2 separate regions of the Homo sapiens genome follow, and region 2 is linked to region 1. Evidence: promoter capture Hi-C in 16 types of primary human blood cells and fetal thymus (Javierre and others, 2016). All regions are on one chromosome and are shown on one strand. The core of a region is centred on a gene start or on the middle of the fragment in contact, and the rest is flanking DNA. Distances in the headings are between cores, read along the strand shown. Region 1 holds the start of WEE2-AS1 (WEE2 antisense RNA 1). Region 2 holds the start of FAM3C (FAM3 metabolism regulating signaling molecule C).

The links. Contacts are between HindIII fragments. The CHiCAGO score rates a contact against its expected background, and 5 or more counts as called.
Region 2: the fragment with the promoter of FAM3C here is called in contact with the fragment with the promoter of WEE2-AS1 in region 1 in 1 of 17 cell types (total CD4 T cells); the score reaches 6.0 in total CD4 T cells.

The regions. Positions count from the first base shown.
Region 1 is chr7:141,734,188-141,739,291 of GRCh38, forward strand. It overlaps WEE2-AS1 (WEE2 antisense RNA 1), which reads right to left and starts at 3,855. Exons shown (of 4, transcript NR_199841.1): 1 at 3,196-3,855. SSBP1 (single stranded DNA binding protein 1) reads left to right here and starts at 4,171. Exons shown (of 7, transcript NM_003143.3): 1 at 4,171-4,223; 2 at 4,937-5,003. The coding sequence starts at 4,980. RefSeq lists an enhancer at 3,188-4,073. The HindIII fragment of the contact is 7,644 bases long and covers 3,760-5,104 here.
Region 2 is chr7:121,393,743-121,399,165 of GRCh38, forward strand. It overlaps FAM3C (FAM3 metabolism regulating signaling molecule C), which reads right to left and starts at 2,566. Exons shown (of 10, transcript NM_014888.3): 1 at 2,420-2,566. It also overlaps the pseudogene CYCSP19. RefSeq lists enhancers at 1,603-2,188, 2,189-2,773 and silencers at 2,001-2,830, 2,871-2,930. The HindIII fragment of the contact is 3,372 bases long and covers 935-4,306 here.

The DNA of each region.
Region 1 (5,104 bases), core at 2,605-5,104:
TTAAAGTGTGTGTGTTGGAAGCTATCTTAAGATTTTATCCCTAAATGGCAAAAATGGGCAGATGAAAGGTTTTAGGTAGAGGCCTGAGGAGGTGATTTGCCTGTTAGAACAATATGGTGGGTACCTTCTTTCTCCACAGTCTGGACAGTGCCAGGACCAGGAGAAGGAGTGGAAGGGGCAGCCCCCGCTGGTGTGGGTTCTGCAATTTATGGGGCTCCATACATCCTTTTTCCCACTAGGCCCAGGGTTAGCGTAAATGAGAAGGAATTTAAGGGGCACCAAGGAACTCAGCAATCAAGATTTGTGATACTTTAATGAAATATTCTTAAAATATTAAAACTAATGAAAAAAATTCATGATGAATAAAATACCAAAATTTTAAATAAAGACAAGATCAGTAAGCTGAAGTTAATTAAAATTATTTAAGGTTGTTACTTGGTCAAGAAAAATTGTGAAGGCATGGCAATTCTCTCAAAACAAGCAAAGCAGATTTGAACACATTACTGATCAGTTTACTTCCATTAAAAGTAAAGTTATATTACATCCATCTTGGCATAAATAAAATATTTAAACTTAAAACAATGTTGTGAATTTTAATACACCTGTAGTGTAACAGGTCCCCCCCACCCGGGTTACTAAAGAGTGTATGTCCACTGCCTGAATCCTGAAGGCCATGTGGCAAGGCCAAGGTGACCAGCCAAAGAGCAGCTGTTTGAGAAGCCAAACATCCCAGAGAATATCTGAGAACCTACCAAAGAAAACAGCTCCATCACACACAGTAGGCTAAAAGCCAGAAAATTAGCTTACAAGTAGCTTAGGGATGGGAGGCCAGGCGGATCTCTACAGCTGTCATGCTGCCATCCAGGAGTGCCTTGTATGTAAGTCCTGATAAACTCCTCTACTCGCCAAGCTGGACTTGTCTGGGTCAATCTTTGGTTTCTCGGCTTCCTCTCAGTTTGGGGGAAGGTTTTTATTAATGCAATTCTGGGTTTTTCTTGTTACAATATCTACTTTAAAAATTTTCAATACTTCTTCAACTACTTTAATGTTCTGGAAATATATGTGTATATATATTGATATATAACACATATACATATATATTGATATATATACACATATATACATACATATATTTTGTGTGATGATATATATATACCGTCTCAAAAATATATATGTGTATATATATTGAGATATATATACACACATATTTCATTCATACATATTGATATATATACACATATATATATACACACATATATATATTTTTTGAGACAGGGTCTCTCACTCTGTTGCACAGGCTGGAGTGCAGTGGTGTGATCATGGCTCACTGAAGCCTCAACTTCCCAGGCTCAAGCGATCCTCCCACTTCAGTAGCTGGGATTATAAGCACATACCACTATGCCTGGCTAATTTTTTTTTTTTTTTTTTGAGACGGAGTCTCGCACTGTTGCCCAGGCTGGAGTGCAGGGGCACGATCTCAGCTCACTGCAAGCTCCGTCTCCCGGGCTCTCGACATTCTCCTGCCTCAGCCTCCCTAGTAGTTGGGACTACAGGCACCCACTACCACGCCCAGCTAATTTTTTGTATTTTTAGGTAGAGACGGGGTTTCACCGTGTTAGCCGGGATGGTCTCGATCTCCTGACCTCGTGATCGGCCCGCCTTGGCCTCCCAAAGTGCTGGGATTATGGGCGTGAGCCACGGCGCCCGGCTGCCTGGCTAATTTTTGTATTTTTTACAGAGACAGGGTTTTGCCATGTTGCTCAAGCTGATCTTGAACTCCTGGGCTCAAGTGATCCACCCCCTCAACCTCCCAAAGTGCTGGGATTACAAACATGAGCTACTGGACCTGGCCAAAATTTTTTTAATTAAACATTTTTTTTTGTTTTTGTCTTTATTTTTAATTTTTGTGGGTTCAAAGGAAGTGTATATATTTATGGAGTACATGAGATATTTTGATACAGGTATGCAACGTCAAATAAGCACATCATGGGGGATGGGGTATCATCTTAATTTATCCTTTGAGTTACACACAATCCAATAACACTCTTATTTTAAAATGTACAGTTAAGTAATTATTGACTATAGTCAACCTATTGTGCCATCGAAAATAGTAGGTCTTATTCGTTCTATTTTTTTGTACCCATTAACCATCCCCACCTTCCCTCCAGCCCCCCACTAACCTTCCTAGCCCCAATTTTTAAAAATACATAAGTACACATATACACAGGGGTGCATATTCTTCCTTGTGCCTCAGGCTCCAGTCTGGCTTGGATCCTGTATTCAGTTAAAATTTTAATACAGTCATGCACTTCATAATGATGTTTTGGAAAAAGACTGCATATACAACAGTGCATATACAAAGGTGGTCCCATAAGATTACAATGGAGTTGAAAAATTCCTATCGTCTAGTGACATCATACCTGCTAAAACATCAGAATGCAATGTATTACTCATGTGTTACTTGATATTAATAATGACTATGTCACTGGTTTATGTATTTACTATACTTTTTATTATATTATTATTTAACTTATTTTTTAAAAGTTAACTGTAAAACAGCCTCAGGCAGGTCCTTCAGGAGGGATTCCAGAAGAAGACACTGTTATAGGAGATGACAGCTCCCTGTGTGTCACTGCTTCTGAAAACCTTCCAGTGGGACAAGATGTGGAAGTGGAAGGCTGAGATTGATCATAATGACCCTGTGTAGGCCTAGGCTAATGTGTGTGTTTATGTCTTAGTTTTTTTAAAAAATGGCTAAAAAGTTAAAAAAAAAAAGAAAAAAAGCAAAGGTAGAAAAAAGCTTGTAGAATAAGGATATAAGAAAAATATTTTTGTACAGTGGTACAGTGTGTGTTTTAAGCTAATTGTTATTACAAAACAGTTAAAACGTAAAAAAATTTGGAAGATTTATAAAGTTATAGTGAGTGAAAGTTTATTAAAGGAAGAAAAGTATTTTTTATAAACTGAGTGTAGCCTAAGTGTACAGTGTTTATGAAGTGTTTAGTGGGTACAATAATGTCCTAGACCTTCATGTTGGGCCACCACTCACTCATTTACTCACCCACAGCAACTTCCAGTTCCGCAAGCTCCATTCATGGTAAGCGCCCCATACAGGTGTGCCATTTTTATCTTTTATACCGCATTTGTACTGTACCTTTTCCATGTTTACATATGTTTAGACACACAGATACTTACCATGAATTACAATGGTCTGCGGTATTCAGTACAGCCCCATGCTGTCAGGTTTGCAGCCTGGAAGCAGCAGGCCACACCACAGAGCCGAGGTGTGTCCAGGCTCCACCATCTAGGTCGTCAAAGTACATTCTGTGGTGTTCGTACAGCAACAAAATCGCCTAATGACGCAATCCTCAGACCTTACCCTGTTGTTAAGGTACACATGACTCTTATTTTGTTCCTCCCGGATTTCCTGCATTAATTTTTACTTTTTAAAATATTACATTAATATATTATTTGATTGCCAGTTTTTCTGGTGCTCCCTTAAATTGCACAGCCTGCCAGCCCTTCCCTGGCTCCCCTTTCTTTTTCTGCTTTTCTTAGTGCTTCAACAGACCTGGGACGTTCTTTTTCTTTCTTTTTTTTTTTAATTTTCTTCTTTTTTTCTTTTTCTTGTTTTGTTTTGTTTTGTTTTGAGATAGAGTTCGCTCTGTTGCCCAGGCTGGAATGCAGTGGTGCGTTCACGGCTCAATGCAGCAACGACCTCCAGGGCTCAGGCGATCCCCCGACCTCAGCCTCCGGAGAAGCTTGGACCACAGGCGCGCGCCACCACGCCCAGCTAATTATATATTTTTTGTAGAGACAGGTCTCACTATGTCGCCTAGGCTGGTCACAAATGTTGCTTTTTTTTCCCTCCAGGCAGAGCTAGTCTCTGTTTTGCCTACCTCGCCCCCTCCTGGGCCCAGTTAGAAACCTCATCACATAATTTCATTTCTTTCCAAACTTGAAACCTTCTAAACTTGAAACCTTCTAAACTTGAAACCTTCCAAACTCACCACTTGGCGGCGTTGATCCATCCGCCCGCGCACAAAGAGAAGATCGCGGAACTTCAGAGTTAAGGGGAGCCGTTTCCCGCAGCGCTAGCCGGCAGTATTTCCAAGGCGCAAGTTGCGGAGTTTCTGTTTCCTTTTTCCTCTGGCGAGCTTTGCGTTCCCTGTGCGCCGGAAGTGATCCCCTGCGTGGCTGGGCTGCTCGGGTTAGATCGTCAGGTGAGGGAGGAAGGGATAGCCAGCGCGAAGGAAGTGCTGGAGTCGTGTGTTTTGGCTGCGCGTGATCCTGCGTGGGTCGGGAGGTGTTTCTGTGTAGGTGTCTGGCCCTTTCATCAGTCGTGCGGAGGACCGCGTGATTTCCTTCCAGTTCTCCTCGGTTTTCAGGTGGTGGCGCCATCTTCGGTAAAGGGTGTCCACCTCTCCCTATGGTGTGGCTGGCTAGCCCGGGGGTCTCTACGCTGCTTGGTCTTTGTTAACGGAGATGAAGGCAGTAATTTTTCAGTAACAGGTTTCAGATATAAGTCCCTTGGTGATGCTAATATTTATGGAGGCCTTACTATGCATTAAGAACTTTTTTAGAAGTTTAGAAAATGGCAGTGAATAAAGCAGATACAAATCTCTGCTCTAAGGGAGCTTGCATAGTAATGAAATTTGAGAAGACAGTGGATTGGAAGTGGGATTAACTCAGAATCAAAATTTTGTCGATGGGTTGGAGGAAGAGGAAGTTATTTGGGACCAAAAAGACATACAGGTGTGAGTTTATTTGGGAGGGAGGAAGGAATCCTCATCAGATGTGCAGGAATGTTGGTACGTTGTGGTCACAAAATTGGAGTGCATAAAAATTATGAATATAGTTAGGAATTTAGGACTGGTGAGTTGTACTTTTGCCATAAGAGGTAATGTTTTTTTCTTATTTTGTTTTTTTCCTTCAGGAAAAGCCTAAAGATTAGACTGTAAGAAAAGAAAATAGAAGCCATGTTTCGAAGACCTGTATTACAGGTAGTCACTTGTCTGTATTAATACTGAGATGTATTACTATCAGCCACAGTGATCAGAAGACTTCTTTAGGCTTTTAACTACAGGGGCAAAAGACCTTTGAG
Region 2 (5,423 bases), core at 1,316-3,815, about 20 Mb before region 1:
TTAAAAGTTCAAAGATTTTGGGAAATTACCTGGTTCAGTCTACTCAATCAGATTAAAAAGGACTGCATGATATTAAGTAATTTAGTCAATGCCACTCTTGAAATAACTAAATACAGAATCAATGCTTCAAATCCTGATCATCTGATCCCAAGAACAGAGACGCTTCTGGACTAAATTCAAGACAAACTTTTGCTATTATACCAAGGTCGCACAAAAATCTATCTAGCTCAGCGCTAACATAAAAATCTTTTGCTATTTGGGTCTTGCACCTTTCAGCTTTAAGAAATGGGCATAAAAATAAAAATAAAAAAGATTCCCTGCTTTAGAGAAAATAAAGTAGCTTTGTGAGTGCCCAGGCTGTCTTATTCATAGTATCCATGATATCTACAATTACTGGTACATGGTAGGCACTCCAGTATTTTTAAGAGTATAAAAATTTTTGAAAAATGAATCGTTCAAAACCTAAAATATATGGTGGAAAATATATGAGTCTTCTGATACCCCCTCAGGGAACATTACTTTTTGCCATTCCATAGCCTCTTAGCCTTTTGGCTGTCTTTTCCAATTTCCTTTTCCTTTTTAATGTATCTTCATAAATTATGAAAGATTAGTTGACAATGCTTAAGGCAGCAATCCACATTAAAAATCTGTAATTGTAATAAAACATCCATTAAGTTTATTTTTAAAGTCACTTTAAGCCAGTAGTGTCTTATTTTTACTCCCTTTTGAAACAGAAGCCCCTTACAATGAGGATTTTGAGGAACCTGTCCTGTGTCCCTCTTACAAAGTTCCCATTGGTAATTCAGAGAGGTCCTCAGGTTGAGAACTGCTGGACTGAACTCCTTTTATTGGCTCCAACTCTTCTTATTTCTTCCTATGAAGAAATGCTAGTCTTTATTGAGTTGAGAAAACATTACAAGAATCTGTGAAACAAAGCTTCTAATACCTGTATAAAACTGAAAACCTTGTGACTTTATTGGTAAACAGCCAAGAAACACAAGAGACTACTAGTAGCCTCTAGAAAGAGGTACAGGTCGATGAAGTGACCAAAACCGGATGCTGATTTGCTGATTCTGCCAATTTCTTGTTAAATGGCTTTCAGTAAGTGATTAACTTTTATTTTCTAAATTCAATAGAGATCTGCTGGTACTCTGTAAGATACTGTATGACTAATAGTAACGGTTCCCAAGACTTAAGAAAACGTAACTGCAAATTGGCCACAAGTCCAAGGGGTCGGGGCCTCTGCTATCAGCATTGACCTTTACTCTCGGGAGTTCATATTTCCATCTGTAAAACTAGAAAAGATAAAGGGACTTATTCACTGAGCTGTTGTGAGAATAAATGAGCACACGAAACCATTTGGCAGTGCCTAGTACACAGTAAGCAATCTAATATTATTTATGTCATTGTATCCATATATATATGGATACATACATATATATGGATACATGGATACATACATATATACGGATACATACATATATATGGATACATACATACATATATATGGATACATACATATATATGGATACATACATATATATGGATACATACATATATATGGATACATACATACATATATATATATGGATACATACACCTGGCTAATTTTTTTATTTTTTAGTAGAGACGAGGTTTCACCATGTTGGCCAAAAAGAAACAAAGGAAAAGTCCTATCAATTAGATAGCAGTTCTATATTACAGGCAATAATATTTTTTCTTAAAAAAAAAAAAGGTAGAGGATGATGGAAACCGCTCCTCCCACAAGTAAAACAGCTGGAGCTCTCAATCTCAAATTGCCAATCCGTCACTCACATATTCAGATCTAGGGCCACTAATCATCATCCGTGGTCCCGAGCTGTGAGAGCAGTAGCAAACAAATAGGAAGAAAAAGAAGAGACACCAAACATCAAAGGGCTGGATAGCTTGTAAAAAACCAAAAGTACCTCTAGTATAGGCGACACTAAAACTTTACAAGTGAGTCAAAACGGCCCCCTATGGAGTTGGAATGCAACACCCAACTCCGTCCCCACCTCTCGGAGCTCTCAGCCTACACGCTGCAGGGGCGCGAGCCACAGCCAACCTGGGGAAGATGCGACCCAGGTGCCCGCCCCAGGCCGGGGCGCCGAGTGCCAGCGCCAGGTGCAGACGCCGCCCCGTCTCCGCGGAGCCCGGGGATGCCCACGCCGGGGCGGCGGCCGGGAACCCCGGCCAGCGGCTCTCCGGGACCCCAGTCCCGCCTGCGCCCTCTCCAACGTCCGGACACGCCGTGACAACGCGGCCGGGCCCGGGGCCCGCCCCCGGCCGGTGACCGCAGTGCGCGGAGGCTGAAGTCGTAGGTGGGCGTCTGGCTTCCCCGGCCTCCTCCATCCCTCCCCGAACCTGAGCCCCGGCTCCGTCCGCCTCCCAGCCGTCTCACCGGCCTCCCGCCCGCCTCTCCGCCGCGCGCGCCCGCCTTCCGGCCTCCCAGCGCTCAGTCCTGCCGGAGGCCGACGGGAGCCGCCGCCTCCAGCTCGCGCCTCCGCTTCCTCTCGGACTCCTCCGGCTGCCCCTCACCCCGGCAAGTGGCCAGGAGAAAGCCAGCTCGCCGCTGGGCCTCCTCCCACGCTTCCCGGCCGCGACCAATGGGCCCCCGCCGCCGGGAAGCCGCGCCCGCCCCCTGGCGGTGGAGGACCAAGCGGGCGCCCGGGCCGGCCAGAGGGAAGGGCCGGAGAGCGGAGGGAGGGGTCTGCGGTCCCGCCCACCGCCCCCGGCCAGGCGCTGCACAATCTGAACTTGCCACGTGGGAGCTGCCGCCGCCGCAGCGGCCCTGCGCCGGGTGGCACTACGGGAGGGAGAAAAATGTGTCACCGCCGTCTCCCCACCGTTTACACGCACAAAATCCCAGCCTCAAGGGCAGAACATTTTAAATGACCCACCCATCCTAGAGATGCGCCAGTTAGGTCATCTTATATATCTTGAGATAGCTGAGATGGTCAGATCAACCAAGGACCTTGGGTTATTTGCCGTTTGACTTCTTGAACCCTAGGAAACTGATTCTGAAAATCCTACTGTCCAGCGTCATTAGAATTCTGATCACCTTTAATGCACCACCCAAGAAGAACAGTAGTCCTTGCATTTTCCAAGTCACGTTTATTTTTTAAATTATAAGATACACAATCGTTAGAAATATTTTTTCTCAGGAGATTTCCTACAATTGTGTTGATAATTGGGAAGTTAATCCAAATCTTACTACATAAGACCTTAGAATGCAAAATTATTTCATAATTCAGATCCATATTCTAAAATAATGAATAACTGTTACCTAGTATTTGACAGAATATTGGGATCATCAGTGGTTGCAGAAATTAAATTGCATTTAAAAATAGGGTTTGACTATAGTGTGTTAATATAGAATTAATAATCTACCAAATTTTAGCTTTCCTCCAAAAATATAAAACACACAAACTAATAGTAACTATGAATTCTGGAGTTTGTGATCCGTGATCAGGGGAGAAAGCATGAAATGAATTCTCATTGTCTTCCATGTGCCAATATTATGCTATTTGTGTATTACTTAAATCAAAAAACTAAGACTCCAAAACTGAGTTTAAATATCTTGCTCAAAAATACAAGATAGTAAGTTATGAAGCTGGAATTCCGGCCTAGCTTCATGTAGCTCCAAATAAACAAAAAGGCACTTTGCTTATTATAGTACCAAAAAATCATAACACTTACTGTACACATGCCTCTCCTAGACTGCTATGTCTCACTGAAAGAGTTTATGAAGCCTCTTGAGTAGGGAGGTCACGGTGTATTTCTGAAAGAGCAATCTGCTCTGTAACCGAGCCAACCAGATTGGAAATTACATGTGACATATTCTTATAGCACCACACCTGAAACAATTCCTGTGCATAAAGTTTAATGTGTTAGTAGCCTATTCTCCACTGACCATAAGATATAGCTTAGAACCCTTTGGTAGGTAATGAAATTAATAACAATGGGTCACAACCAACATTTTGTTGCTGTTGATTCACTGAAAAATAGAAAAAAAAAACAGTTCAAAGCATAAATTCAGGATAAGTATTCTTCATGAAACATTTGTACAGCATCATGTGTGGGTGAGTGTCTGTGTGTCTATGTCCTGGATACAGTAGAAATTATATTTCTTAATATGGGTTTCAATTTTTTTAACATTGGTAAATCACTTCTTTAGGACTCCTGTTAATCAGCCAGTTCTTACACCTATAAACGAGTAAGGATAACTTCCTACTTTTACTTGGCAGGAGGTAGGGGAGCCAGGAGAAGTATTCAGGATTAATGATTAAGCTTAATAAAACCACAGAGCTTTACAGCTCCAGGAGGTATAAGCCAAAGGTGTTGGCTATTACAATAACTACCGATAATTTATATTATATAATAATAGCTACTGATAATGTATATTTCTAAAGCTGATATTTATTGTGTGCTTATTGTGCACCAGGCACTTTTCTAAGCACTTTATATATATAGACTTATTTAATTCTCACAATAATCCTATAAATACAGCGGAGAAAAGTGAAACTTGCTCAAGGTCCTTCTGCTATGACCAGACAGAGCTAAGATTCAAACTCACGTGCTCAACTTCAAAGCCCAACTTTTTTGTTGACTCGAAAAGAATATACAGAGAGTGTGACATCCAGCTTCTGAGTGTCATCCTTCATAGCACAAGCAACAAAAGAGAGGATTAAATATGGATGATGTTGAGAAAGGCAAGAAGATTTGTATTCAGAAGTGTGCCCAGTGCCACACTGTGGAAAAGGCAGGCAAGCACAGGACTGGGCCTAATCTCCATGGTCTCTTCGGATGGAAGACAGGTCAAGCCGTTGGATTATTTTACACAGATGCCATTAAGAACAAAGGCATCACCTGGGGAGAGGATACACTGATGGAGTATTTGGAGAATCCCAAGAAGCACATCTCTGGAACAAAGTGATCTTTGCCAGCATTAAGAAGAAGGCAGAAAGAGCAGACTTGATAGCTTATCTCAAAAAAGCTACTAATGAATAATAATTGGCCACTGCCTTATTTATTACAAAACAGAAATGTCTTATGACTTTTTTATGTGTACCATAATTTAATAGACCTCACACACCAGAATTCAGATCATGAATAACTGACAGAATATTTTGTTGGGCAGTCCTGATGTAAAACTAAGACTGGCTTGCAGTTAAATGAATATGTTCAGTTTTTTTGAATTTTAATAGTAATCCAATTCAGTAAATGCTATCACTGTTTACCCTTTCTAAAGACATGATTTGATTAGACTTTGTTAGTAATGTTCAGCTTTTCACAAAGATGGTGAATGCCATCTTAAAACATATTGGAGATTGGTTTTATATTTGGATTTATATAACTGGTTATGTGAATATATTTAAATACTGGAGAAATTCCTTCACTATCTC